4 separate regions of the Homo sapiens genome follow, and all the other regions are linked to region 2. Evidence: promoter capture Hi-C in 16 types of primary human blood cells and fetal thymus (Javierre and others, 2016). All regions are on one chromosome and are shown on one strand. The core of a region is centred on a gene start or on the middle of the fragment in contact, and the rest is flanking DNA. Distances in the headings are between cores, read along the strand shown.

The links. Contacts are between HindIII fragments. The CHiCAGO score rates a contact against its expected background, and 5 or more counts as called.
Region 1: a fragment that was not itself captured here is called in contact with the fragment with the promoter of PIK3R4 in region 2 in 3 of 17 cell types (erythroblasts, M1 macrophages and megakaryocytes); the score reaches 5.6 in erythroblasts.
Region 3: a fragment that was not itself captured here is called in contact with the fragment with the promoter of PIK3R4 in region 2 in 1 of 17 cell types (erythroblasts); the score reaches 6.2 in erythroblasts.
Region 4: a contact is called between a fragment that was not itself captured here and the fragment with the promoter of PIK3R4 in region 2, in 1 of 17 cell types (M1 macrophages). The highest score is 6.3, in M1 macrophages.

What each region holds. Positions count from the first base shown.
Region 1 is chr3:130,937,363-130,940,357 of GRCh38, reverse strand. ATP2C1 (ATPase secretory pathway Ca2+ transporting 1) reads right to left here. Exons shown (of 28, transcript NM_001378687.1): 6 at 2,895-2,930. Among named protein-coding and RNA genes, the nearest start is that of ATP2C1, 45 kb to the right of the region's middle. The HindIII fragment of the contact is 2,860 bases long and covers 1-2,733 here.
Region 2 is chr3:130,745,295-130,748,126 of GRCh38, reverse strand. PIK3R4 (phosphoinositide-3-kinase regulatory subunit 4) reads left to right here and starts at 1,298. Exons shown (of 20, transcript NM_014602.3): 1 at 1,298-1,809. RefSeq lists a silencer at 274-323 and an enhancer at 1,558-1,617. The HindIII fragment of the contact is 4,673 bases long and covers 1-2,396 here.
Region 3 is chr3:130,991,950-130,994,659 of GRCh38, reverse strand. It overlaps ATP2C1 (ATPase secretory pathway Ca2+ transporting 1), which reads right to left. Exons shown (of 28, transcript NM_001378687.1): 21 at 1,659-1,709; 22 at 562-728. Among named protein-coding and RNA genes, the nearest start is that of ASTE1, 34 kb to the left of the region's middle. The HindIII fragment of the contact is 936 bases long and covers 903-1,838 here.
Region 4 is chr3:130,966,873-130,969,757 of GRCh38, reverse strand. ATP2C1 (ATPase secretory pathway Ca2+ transporting 1) reads right to left here. Exons shown (of 28, transcript NM_001378687.1): 15 at 2,518-2,613; 16 at 2,339-2,428; 17 at 362-466. Among named protein-coding and RNA genes, the nearest start is that of ASTE1, 59 kb to the left of the region's middle. The HindIII fragment of the contact is 2,803 bases long and covers 95-2,885 here.

The DNA.
Region 1 (2,995 bases), core at 54-2,553, 190 kb before region 2:
GTCCAAAGAGTACATAATTTGAGTCATTAAAAGTTTTAAGTCATTGAGCCTTAAAATTTAGATAATCTTATGTTAAGTGTCTAATGACCACAGAAGTCAAAGATAATTAACCGTAAACAACATCTGCTTTAGGAATTTAAGCCCATGCTAACAGCAATGGTTTACAAAGTAAACCATTAGAACAAACATGGGATAAACAAGGAGTAAGATGTGGCTGGCTCTATACTGACAGACCCAGTTCCCATCAACCTGTGTATCCAAAAAGGAAAATTCTCAGGAGTTCTAACAATGTGATTTCTAGCCTTCTTCCATCCAGATAACAAATAGCTGAGGGTCAGTCAGAAACATCCTTCAACTCACAATACTACTTAGTCCACATTTCCATGAGCAGTCTTGCATCACACATCACTGCTATTTTTGCCTCATGTCTGTAGTAAGCAAAAGAATCTTCTAATCTAAGGTCAAAAGAGGGAGAGGCAAATAGTGGAGGTAGAAGGGTTGGGAATGTTTTGAAATGACTGCAGTGCTAGTACTAGTCAAAATGTCCTATCCATCACAAACTTCAAATAGAAAACACAAGGCTATGTAAGAATAACTTAGAACACAATCAGTCTCTACTTAATCTTAGAGTGACAAATATAAGGAAAATCTACAAATGTAAAAATCATAAGACAACACCCCAAACACATGAAGGATATTAAGGAATTTGGAAGTTTACCCAAAAATTCTGTAATATGCTAGAAAATACCCATCAATCCTAGATCCCAGTAATAAATGACATAGATGCTGCCCAATCTTTACTTATGTCTTCTGGTTTCTTAGCCTCTACTCCCTACAATTATAAAGATACCTCTATATCAAAATGATCATTAAACATACCACCTAAAACCTAATAAATGCCTAAAAGTCATTTTTCAAATTTATTGTAAGGTGACTTCATTACGACTATATAAAACAATTAGCTATTTTTATGGCTGGGAAGAAGTACAGTGGTGTGGGGAATGGGGATTGCAAAGACACACGGAAAAAAGGCAGGACATAAATATAAAAAGGAATATAAAAAGCCCTCTTAAGACACAAGTAATATAGCACAAATAACAAATAATGATAAAGTATTAAGAATTTTTTATACATTTTTGATAAAGAGCTTTTTGATTAAAGCATTATGATAAGTTCAACTGACAGTAAATAGGATCTTTTTGGAGAGGATTTTTACTTGTTTATAGACTATTTTGTTGGTTTCACAGGCATATTTGGTGATGGGTCACATGTGTGTAAGAATCAGACCTAGCAATTTGAAACTAGGCTTTTTATAAAGTTTTCATCCTTTTGTGAGATTTCTATCAAATGTACCTATCATAAACATATTTAATAGTCTCAGCCATAGCATTTAATGTGTATAACAACACTATCTTGTGTAAAATTCCATATTGACTTATGTTAAAATCACAATTTTGTGGTGTTTTTTGAAAACATGGGCTTTCTAGTGATCAAAGAGAACAAGGTACTAAGGTCTTCCATACATAGTGATACTATTTGCAGGAATCCTTCTGAAGTAGGGCACTCCACATATCTGACACATTCTTAAAGACGCAAGAAGGTCCAGTTAGTGGTCCAGTGGGTCATATCACTCACTTGGCTGAATGAATAGCTGCCTTGAATAATGGTTAGCCTGACATGACCTATGCTAGACTAACCAGCTCCACCTGACCATGGGCAACATTTGTCTAAGCAAGAAGATTCCCCTAAAAGCGGAACCCTGATAGTCTACTAATGGAGCTCACAAACCTACTGCAAATGATCTGATTCCAACTGGCTTTCTACACTGGGTTACTACAGAACTAATAACAACTAGGTTAGAGATTACCTTAAGAGGCTGGGATAGTGACAAGAAATACCCACGTAATAAATCGTAGATGTAAGAACAACCATAGTTATTCAAAGTATAGGCTTCAGATTCAAAACAGCACGAACTTCAGGCTTATGCAACAATATTACATTTTTCTCTAAGCTAGAATAATTCTATTCTTGTTAACCATGTTCTAGCTAAAAAGGAAATCTGCTGATATTGTGAAACACTGTTCTAAAATCTACAGAAGTTTCAGATATTTAAATAAACATAAAACTAAGCCTACATTTTTATTTGTCTGTACTTATTAATAGAAATCTTGACAGTATCTCCACATTATTCATAGTAATTTTTAAAAGGGGCTACTTTACATATGTTTTATTTACTGTTTGAATTACTTTGATTCAGATCACAACACCCCTTTTGTGGAGGAATGAGAAATTGTTTTAAAGGGAGGGGAGAGGAGGTCATGCCAACAATGAGTAGAACCATTTTAATTCCTCAAAACAGACTCAAATAAAATAAGGTTAAGTGATAAATTCAGCAAACAAGTGTAGCATTTGGCTAAGGGAATCAGTCACAGAAACCTGTGGAATTTTCTTCAAATGGTACATCACAGATCGACCTTTTAATTCTATACTTTTTTGTTTCATCTAGACTTAGCTCTAGTAGGCATTAAAACATAACAGTGTTATGAAACTATAAACTCTGGTCCAATTTTTTAATTGAAAAAATAAAAAAGTTTACTGCTGGATTTTATTTCTATTACTATGCTTTTTGTTTCCATCTGCTTCAGTTATCCTTAACATTATCAAATAAAAAACTAGATTTTCTTCATCTCACTACCTAAATCAAAGCAGTTCCTTAGTCCCACACCACAAGCTTCCCTGAAGAGTTGTCTGTATCTGAAATTACTTGAAAAACAAAGAATAAGTTGTTCTGATGGGCATTACAACCCCCCAATAACGGTAGGTTCTACCACAAGACACCTTGATTTTTAAGCAATTAACATACCATTTTCATGTTGGCAAAATAGAGTACTTACCTGAACAAAGGCAACTGTAACAACGATAAGTATTGCCTAAACAAAAGAAACAGGCTTTTAAATCAGACATTAACTTGAGAAGTAACTGTTAACTGTATTTT
Region 2 (2,832 bases), core at 49-2,548:
TCGAGGCGGCGGATCACTTGAGGTCAGGAGATCCAGACCATCCTGGCCAACATGGTGAAACCCCATCTCTACAAACAATACAAAAACTAGCGGCCGGGCGCGGTGGCTCACGCCTGTAATCCCAGCACTTTGAGAGGCCGGGTGGATCACGAGGTCAGGAGATCGAGACCACGGCGAAACCCCGTCTCTACTAAAAAAAAAATACAAAAAATTAGCCCGGCGCGGTGGCGGGCGCCTATAGTCCTAGCTACTCGGGAGGCTGAGGCAGAAGAATGGCGTGAACCCGGGAGGCGGAGCTTGCAGTGAGCCGAGATCGCGCCACTGCACTCCAGCCTGGGCGACAAGAGCGAGACTCCGTCTCAAAAAAAAAAAAAACAAAAACCTAGCTGGGCGTGGTGGCACGTGCCTGTGGTCCCAGCTACTCTGGAGGCAGAGGCATGAGAATCGCTTGAACCCGGGAGGTGGAGTTTGCAGTAAGCCGAGATGGCACCACTGCATTCCAGCCTGGGTGACAGAGCCAGACTGTCTCCAAAAGAAAAAAAAAAAGGCCGGGCGCGGCGGCTCACGCCTGTAATCCCAACACTTTGGGAGGCTGAGGCAGGCGGATCACGAGGTCAGGAGATCGAGACCAACCTGGCTAACACGGTGAAACCCCGCCTCTACTAAAAATACAAAAAAATTAGCCGGGCGTGGTGGCGGGCGCCTGTAGTCTCAGCTACTCGGGAGGCTGAGGCAGGAGAATCGCTTGAACCCGGGAGGTGGAGGTTGCAGTAAGCCGAGATCGCTCCACTGCACTCCAGCCTGGGCGACAGAACGAGACTCAGCCTCAAAAAAAAAAAAAAAAAAAAAAAAAAAAAAAAAAAAAAAAAAAAAAATTAAAATCAGATTATAGGGATGATTGCACAACTCGATAGATGTATTAAAAACTACTGCTTTGTACATTTTAAGCAGGTGAACTTTATGGTATGTAAGTTATATCTCACCAGAACTCTAAAAATCCAGCTTGGGATATATTAGTTTTCCTAAATATTCTTGAGTTCTCTTAACTCTGTTCTGCTGTCCTGGGAGTGAAGGCGTGTCTGAGCAGATTCTAGGGGATGTCAGAAACCTCAGCGTTCGTGAATGAAAGGTAGAAGAGCAGGAAGGGGAATAGATCTTTGTCAGAGCATCATTTTCTCCCTGTAGACTCGCCCAAAGTAAGACCACGCCTTCCCTAGTTTCCTAGCAACCGGTTTCCTACCCTGGCAATTCCTCAAGGCTCACTCTTTTTCGTCACTTCCGCTCGGCGACAGGAAGTGAGGTCAGACCGGTTGCTTTCCCGGGAGTTCGGCGTTTGCTGGGGCTGCAGCAGCTGAAGTGTAGTGTTTTCTTGGGACTGGCGGTCTGCACTTCTCTCCCGGGTTCCATCTCCCCCCGCCCGGTGGTGAGGCCCTCGAGGAGGGCTCGGACGGGTGTAGCGATCCGCGCTAGAGGAAGACGAGGCCCGGGAACGCATGTCCCCCAGGGCAGGTTAGGGGGCTGGAGGGGTCAAATCCCGGGGTACTTGTGGAGACTCTTTAGCGTGGCTTCTTCTCTCTGCTGAGACCCCGAGAGCTTTCCCAGTTCTCCTCCCAGGACCACCGGGGTTCCTGAAGATCGGGACTTTTCTGCGCCCCTCCACCAACAGCCCATCTCCTGTCTATGAAGAAAGACCCTTCGTAGAAACAACTTCCCCGCTGCTGACGCGTTTTCCCGTCCCGTCCCCGAAGTAGTCTACTATGACCTCGTTGTGAGCCTCTGAACGATTTTGACACTTTCCCGAGGCCTAGGGTAAATGTTTATGTGTGCTCAAGGTCGTGTGTGTATATGTGTGGCATTTATTTCCTGCAAAACCTGAGTTAGCAGAACCCTGGGGTACGTTTAGCTAGTGTATACTTTGGTCTGCTTTTCTTTAACATCTGTGGCAAGGTTTCTTGTTGCAGACCAGCGAAGTTTGCACCTTCTTTTAGCTGGGTGAGAGGGCACACTGGAATTAGGCAGGAAGTGTCCAGGAGTTAACTGAATTTTTAGATCTTAGTTTGACCTTTTCAGTTTTCAGTTTTTCTTTTTTTTTTTTTATTTTTTGAGACGGACGGAGTCTCGCTCTGTCACCCAGGCTGGAGTGCGGTGGCGGGATCTCCACTCACTGCAACCTCTGCGTCCTGGGTTCAAGCAATTCTGCGTCAGCCTCACGAGTAGCTGGGATTACAGGCACCCACTACCACGCCCGGCTAATTTTTGTATTTTTAGTAGAGACGGGATTTTAACCATGTTGGCCAGCCCCGTCTTGAGCTCCTGACCTCGTGATCCTCCCGCCTCGGCCTCCCGAAGTGCTGGGATTACAGGCGTGAGCCACCGCGCCCGGCCAGTTTTAAGCTTTTAATGTGTCTCTTTCTTATTTCCAAGAAACTACAGATTCTTGGACAAGAACTATGTCATATGGTAACTTTGTAATTCTCATAGCCCCAAGCACAGCACGGAACACATAGTAAAGGCTCATTAATATTTTAAATTTAAATATGAGAAAATAACACAAACTAACATTTTTGGCTTAAAGTTGAAGAGGCCTATCTAAATATAGTTCAGCTCCTGGAAATGGCGATGCGCAATAGCAGGGTATTTTTAGGTAAAATAACAAGGTCTTCTTGGAGAAAATAACATGGTCTTTTTAGATAAATGTGTGTGAAATTTAGAGGCTGCCCCAGAAGGCTAGGTACAGTGCTGTTAGTGGAAGAGAAGTATGCTGCATCTGTCTTTTTGGAAGAGACCAAATAATGGAATAATGGTGTTTCACAGCTTCTTTGTTTCTTGTCT
Region 3 (2,710 bases), core at 121-2,620, 250 kb before region 2:
AATAAATAAATGGGATTCACATGATCCCCACCTGAACACTGTGAAACTGACACCACCATGTATTACACTGGAGTCTTAAATCAACTGGAAACTGTGGCTGACACAAATAGAGCTATTTAAATTTAATAAATTATAACATTAAATGAGGGCAAGATGAATAAATTACTGATATAAAAAACAGGTATGGATGTAAACTTCATAATTTTCAATATTTATTATAAAGCCAAAAAAAGAGCCATACATATGCATATTTCTAACTACCTGAATTTAACTAAAATAAAGGCCATTACTATACCATCATATTAGTGCCCAGAAAAAGGTGAAATGTGGCTGGCACTTGGCAAATACTTCTTAAATGAGGGTCCTGCCATTTACTATGCCTGTTCCAGCCACACAAATCATCTTCTTCATACCATAAAATAGGATAATTACCCTAGAAAAGTGGTTTAGTTTACCTAATGTTTAAATACTAATTCTTTTCCAGTTGAATTCTCTAGGGGTGGGGGACAGGAAAGGATAGGGGAAGATTCTCTGATAGGCATTCACTGAAACAAAGCTTACATTATGGTTTGAAAATCATCATCCACTAGGATCATGTCTGCTGCCTCTTTGCAAACATCTGTACCAGTCTGGCCCATCGCAACTCCAATGTCTGCAGCCTTCAGAGCAACTGCATCATTTACTCCATCTCCTGTCATGGCTACAACTGAACCGTTCTTCTGTAGCGACTAGAGTGGAGCAGAGGACAGGGGAGAGGAAGGAATTTTGATAAAAATGTTGCTTCCATACAAAGCGATAAACAAATCCTCCCTATTTTTTTCACATAATTAAGATTAGAAATAATATAGACCACCCATTGTTCAATGAACTTCAACAAATGGAGATCTCAGTAAGATAAAGCTTAGAAAAAGTTGCTACTAATATTCCCATCTGTGAGAACTGTATCTCTAAATTCTGTTCTTCAAACAACTATACAATGATTCTCAACCAGGGGCAATTGTGTCTCCCAAGGGACATCTGACAATGTGTGGAGATGTTTTGGACTATCAGGATTTGGGGGATGTTACTGGCACCTAGTGGGAAGGGGCCAAGAATGCTGCTAAACATTCAATAACATATGGGGCAGCCCTTCACAACAAGGAATTATCCAGTCCAAAATGTCAATGGTGCCAAGGTTGAGAAACTCTGAACTACACAATGGCTGGCTATCATAACTTAAGACCATTAACTACTGGATACTCTATCAGTTGGTTTAAATACATTTGACTAATTAATATAAATAATCATAGCCTTTTAAGCACTGTTCACACTGTCACAACACTATTTCCTTGCTGTATTTATTTAGTTTCTAACTAATTACTGCTATTTACGCTGGGATGACTCGGCTATGGACCCCAGTTAGAACATTGTTTTATACTGTCTAACTGTTTAAAGAAGGCTGTATTTGCAGATACTTCATTCAAGTTTTCTTCTACATCTTATGCCAACTAAATTCTCTATTAGTGTTTCTATGTCAAGCTCTTACAAAAAAAAAAAACTGTTTTGCTTCACAGTATTTCTGACCTTGATGCTCTACTCCCTGTAATGCAAACATAACAAAAGTAAAGTAGCAGCATTTTGTATACAGAAATAAAACAATCTGATTCTTACACACTCACCTTAATAATTTTCATCTTGTGCCTTGGGCTAGCTCTGTAAAATACTGCAACCTGTTAAAATACAAGATACACTAAAAATCTTCAATATTAAGATTTCTACAGAATAACCCATGCATTCATAACTAATGATGAAAAACTCATCAATTTAAGCTGTATTTAATTTGCCACTGAGATCAAGCTTAAGCAATATGACATATGTTTGTTAAGACATTAATCTGACATGGTCATTTCAATCTTTACCAAAGGTACCACAGGAAATACACAATCTAAACAAGTCATCCAATTTATATCATTATGTGTAAACTCTGGAAAGAAAACAGCCTTATTCTTGAAATGTTCCAGAGACAAAAAAAGGAAAAATTCTCTTGCGTCTGTTTCCTATGACACTCGCATACAACTAAAATAGCCTTTTCCCTTTGTTCTGTCTTCAGGAGCAATAAAGAACAGCTGCTTCTCAGTGTCTGTAGAGCCATTTTTTACAGTGTCAAGTGTCTGCTCATTCCCTTTTACTCAGGTTAACTCATTAGCCTCTCTTCCACTGTACTTCTAAATTGCTTATATGATTTTTATCTCTCCAAAATAAATATTTAATCCTTTTTTCTGACCCCATCTCCTGATCTAAAATCGTTTCACTGTGTTCCAACAAATCTCCTCTATTTTTTACTCTTTTTCACTTTGCTCTAACCTAGTGTTTCCACAAAACACTACCATCCCTATAACCTCCTCAAATAGTACTTTGCTCTAACCTAGTGTTTCCACAAAACACTACCATCCCTATAACCTCCTCAAATAGTACCACTGGGGGAGCCTACAGGTGGAACACGGTATCCGCTATTCTCCCTTCATAAAACCTCAGTTCTGAATGTCAGATGAGACTGTAACTCACTAACTGTAAGCATTCACTGCTCCGGAGTTCACAGCCCCTCATTTCACAATGATTTTAACTTCTGCCTCACTACCATGTCACTCTCTCCAACAATATTTACAAGTTATGGTGATTTCAATATACATAATACACCATTCTCTTTCCTATTCTCCTAGAGGATTAGTTC
Region 4 (2,885 bases), core at 247-2,746, 220 kb before region 2:
AAAGAACACAGATTGAAACACAGTCTGCAAAGACCTTATAAGGAACTGTCATGAAGAAGAGAAAAAATTCTGAAAAAATCTGATGTCACAAGCTTCAGGAGACTGAGACTAGGCTACAACTCATTTAAGCTGTTTGCTCACACAGCAGCAACTCCATGAATATATCTATGCATGGATTCTATAAGGAAAGACTATCAAAGAGAACACAAACAATTAAGAGATGAGTGTACTATTAATTACATGTACTTTAAAGCAACAAGTCTTTATTATGTACAATGACTAAACCCAAAGGTGGACAGTAAATGAAAAAATAGTCATCTAAGCTAAACAGGAAATAAGTATTCTTTAAACAGATGGATACCTGCTGTGTTCGGTGTACACACTTAACAGCCATCCACTTTTGCTCAGAGCTAAAAGGGTATTCAGCTTTTCTGATGTAGTCTTGTTGAAGTCCATCAAGACCCATCTATATGGCACAAAGAGAAAGTTAATTCTCACCTATATGTGATTATTTTTTCCTTTAACAAAGAACAAGGGTCACCACTTGTAACTAGGTTGGCTGGATTATTTTTCAGTTAATAGTGAAATAGTAAATGCTCCATCTATATATACTGTACTTCCCTACACATCAGCATACATTTTCAACATGAAAGCCCAGGTATGTAGATATAGTCTAAGGCAGGTTTTCTGGATTGTACGCTGACTAAACCTCCCATACACACTGTATTAATCCCTCTACCCACTCAAATTCTGAAAGGAAGCAGGATATAAATAAATAAAAGTACCCAACCAATTCTGAGCATGTATTTTTATGATCAATAGAAGTTTTAGATTAAATCTCTCACTTCTTAGGGACTCAAATGGCTCACCTGTTATCATCCTAGTCCCTTACCCTCTGCCACTTTATATCCTGAATACTACCAGTCATGTTGTTGTTTTCCCTCCTAATAGCGTTTGCATCAATATCAAATATCTAAATATCAAAAATATCAAAAAATATCTTCCAAATATCAAAAATGTTTAAACTACTCAAAATTCTACCATGTATTGCTTTCTACTTTCTACTGAAACATGTTCAGGCTCTTCTTGGCCTTAAAGGTTCTCCAGAAACCCACCACATACAGCGTCTATAAAAATCCTCCTGGTCGTGCAAATACGTTTCATTTCATCCAGTTTGGCCAACTCATTAGCCACAACCAACTCTATGCTCTTTTATTCCTCTCTACTTCTACTTTAGTTCATTCCCTAGCTTATCTCATCTAAACCCTTCCTATCCTTCAAAGCCCTCATATCCCAGCTCTGAATTTGCATTGTTCTTATCTTATATGTGACTCAGTGTTTAAGATTTCAGTGTCTGCTGTCTTGGACTGCCTTTTGTCTCAAGAATGTCAATATAAATTCCCTACCTAAAATGTGAGGTCTCTGCCCATAAAAAGATAGTTTCATATTCTTTATCCCTCAAAGAAACTAATATCTTTATAAGCATAACACAGGAAATACTTGATAACGGATTCATGTTTTGAGTACTATGCTGTTTTAGTTGTAAGGAGACCAAATGATACAGAAATGTGCTTTTCTGCCAAGGAAACTATATATTCTAAAACTATCAATTTTATTTCATTAAATATGTTATAATAACCTGTAATTCTGTACTGTCTCTCATTTCAAGCAACCTCATTTAGAAGCCTCTTGCTTTATACAAGTATCAAAATTTTCTCTGAATACTCTTAAAGGTAGGAATAGTTATTTTTGTTATGAGTGACAGGCTGGACTTACTAGGTTTCTCACTGAATCAAATATAGGACTTAGGGGATAAGGAGACGGATTGGGACAGATGAAAAGTTAACTGAGACTTCTTCTCCCCAAAACAAATTATAACTTCACAATCATTTTGAGAAATTAACAAAGGAGAGAAAGGAAAGACTGGGAAAACAAAGCTATTTTCTCATGACTGTGTTATTATCTTTACATAGAAATACTAAAGAATGTTGCCTTTTATTCATTCAAAAGTTAGTATTTATCAGCAATTACACACATTTATAAAGTATTTCACATGTAGATCTCAACATTGTGGAAGACAGGAACATTTCTTCACAAGAAATCAATGACTGCTCATTAGTTTGTAACTTGCATGTGAACAATAAAGTTATACTGAAAAAAGTCTATACTTTACATTTATAGGAATAAAACTGATACCTAAAAGATAGTAAAAACAATGAAATAGTATGAGTTTTTTTCACTCAATACCTAAAAACCAGTAATACTGAAATTGATGACACTGCATTCTGTTGTGAGGGCAGTGTCTCAAATGTCAAAGAAGAGAAATTTAGGTACGTACCTTCATTGCAAGAGCAATTAAGGCCCCTTCTGTTGGCTTCCCCATTAGAGTATTGTTTCTAATTACAGCATCATTGCACACACAGCCCGCCTAAGAAAAATACACATAAACTATGAACCTATCACTGTGTCTTAAGTTATTATGAAGAAAGTCACCATCTTGGAAAAAAAAATATTTACCTCAACAATTCTGCTAACAGCTGGGTTATAGAATCCATGAACAACATCACCATCAACAATCACTTCCCCAAATTGATTATAGCCAACTCCAGTAACCTAAAGATCACAAAGTGGGATCAATAATACAAACACTACAAACACTTGGTGGTGACAAGACCTATAAAACCCAAAAACTATAATGAGTTCTGTTCATTTTATTTATAATGACACTGTTAAAAGTGTTCACCTAGAAAAGCATTAAAATTTGTCTTTAAAAAGGACATTTAGTAAAGAAATATAGATTCTAATTCTCATCACAATTATTAATCTAAAAAGACATTGTTTTCTAATTACAATATACTGTTAAAAGAATAAGCTATGAAAATATA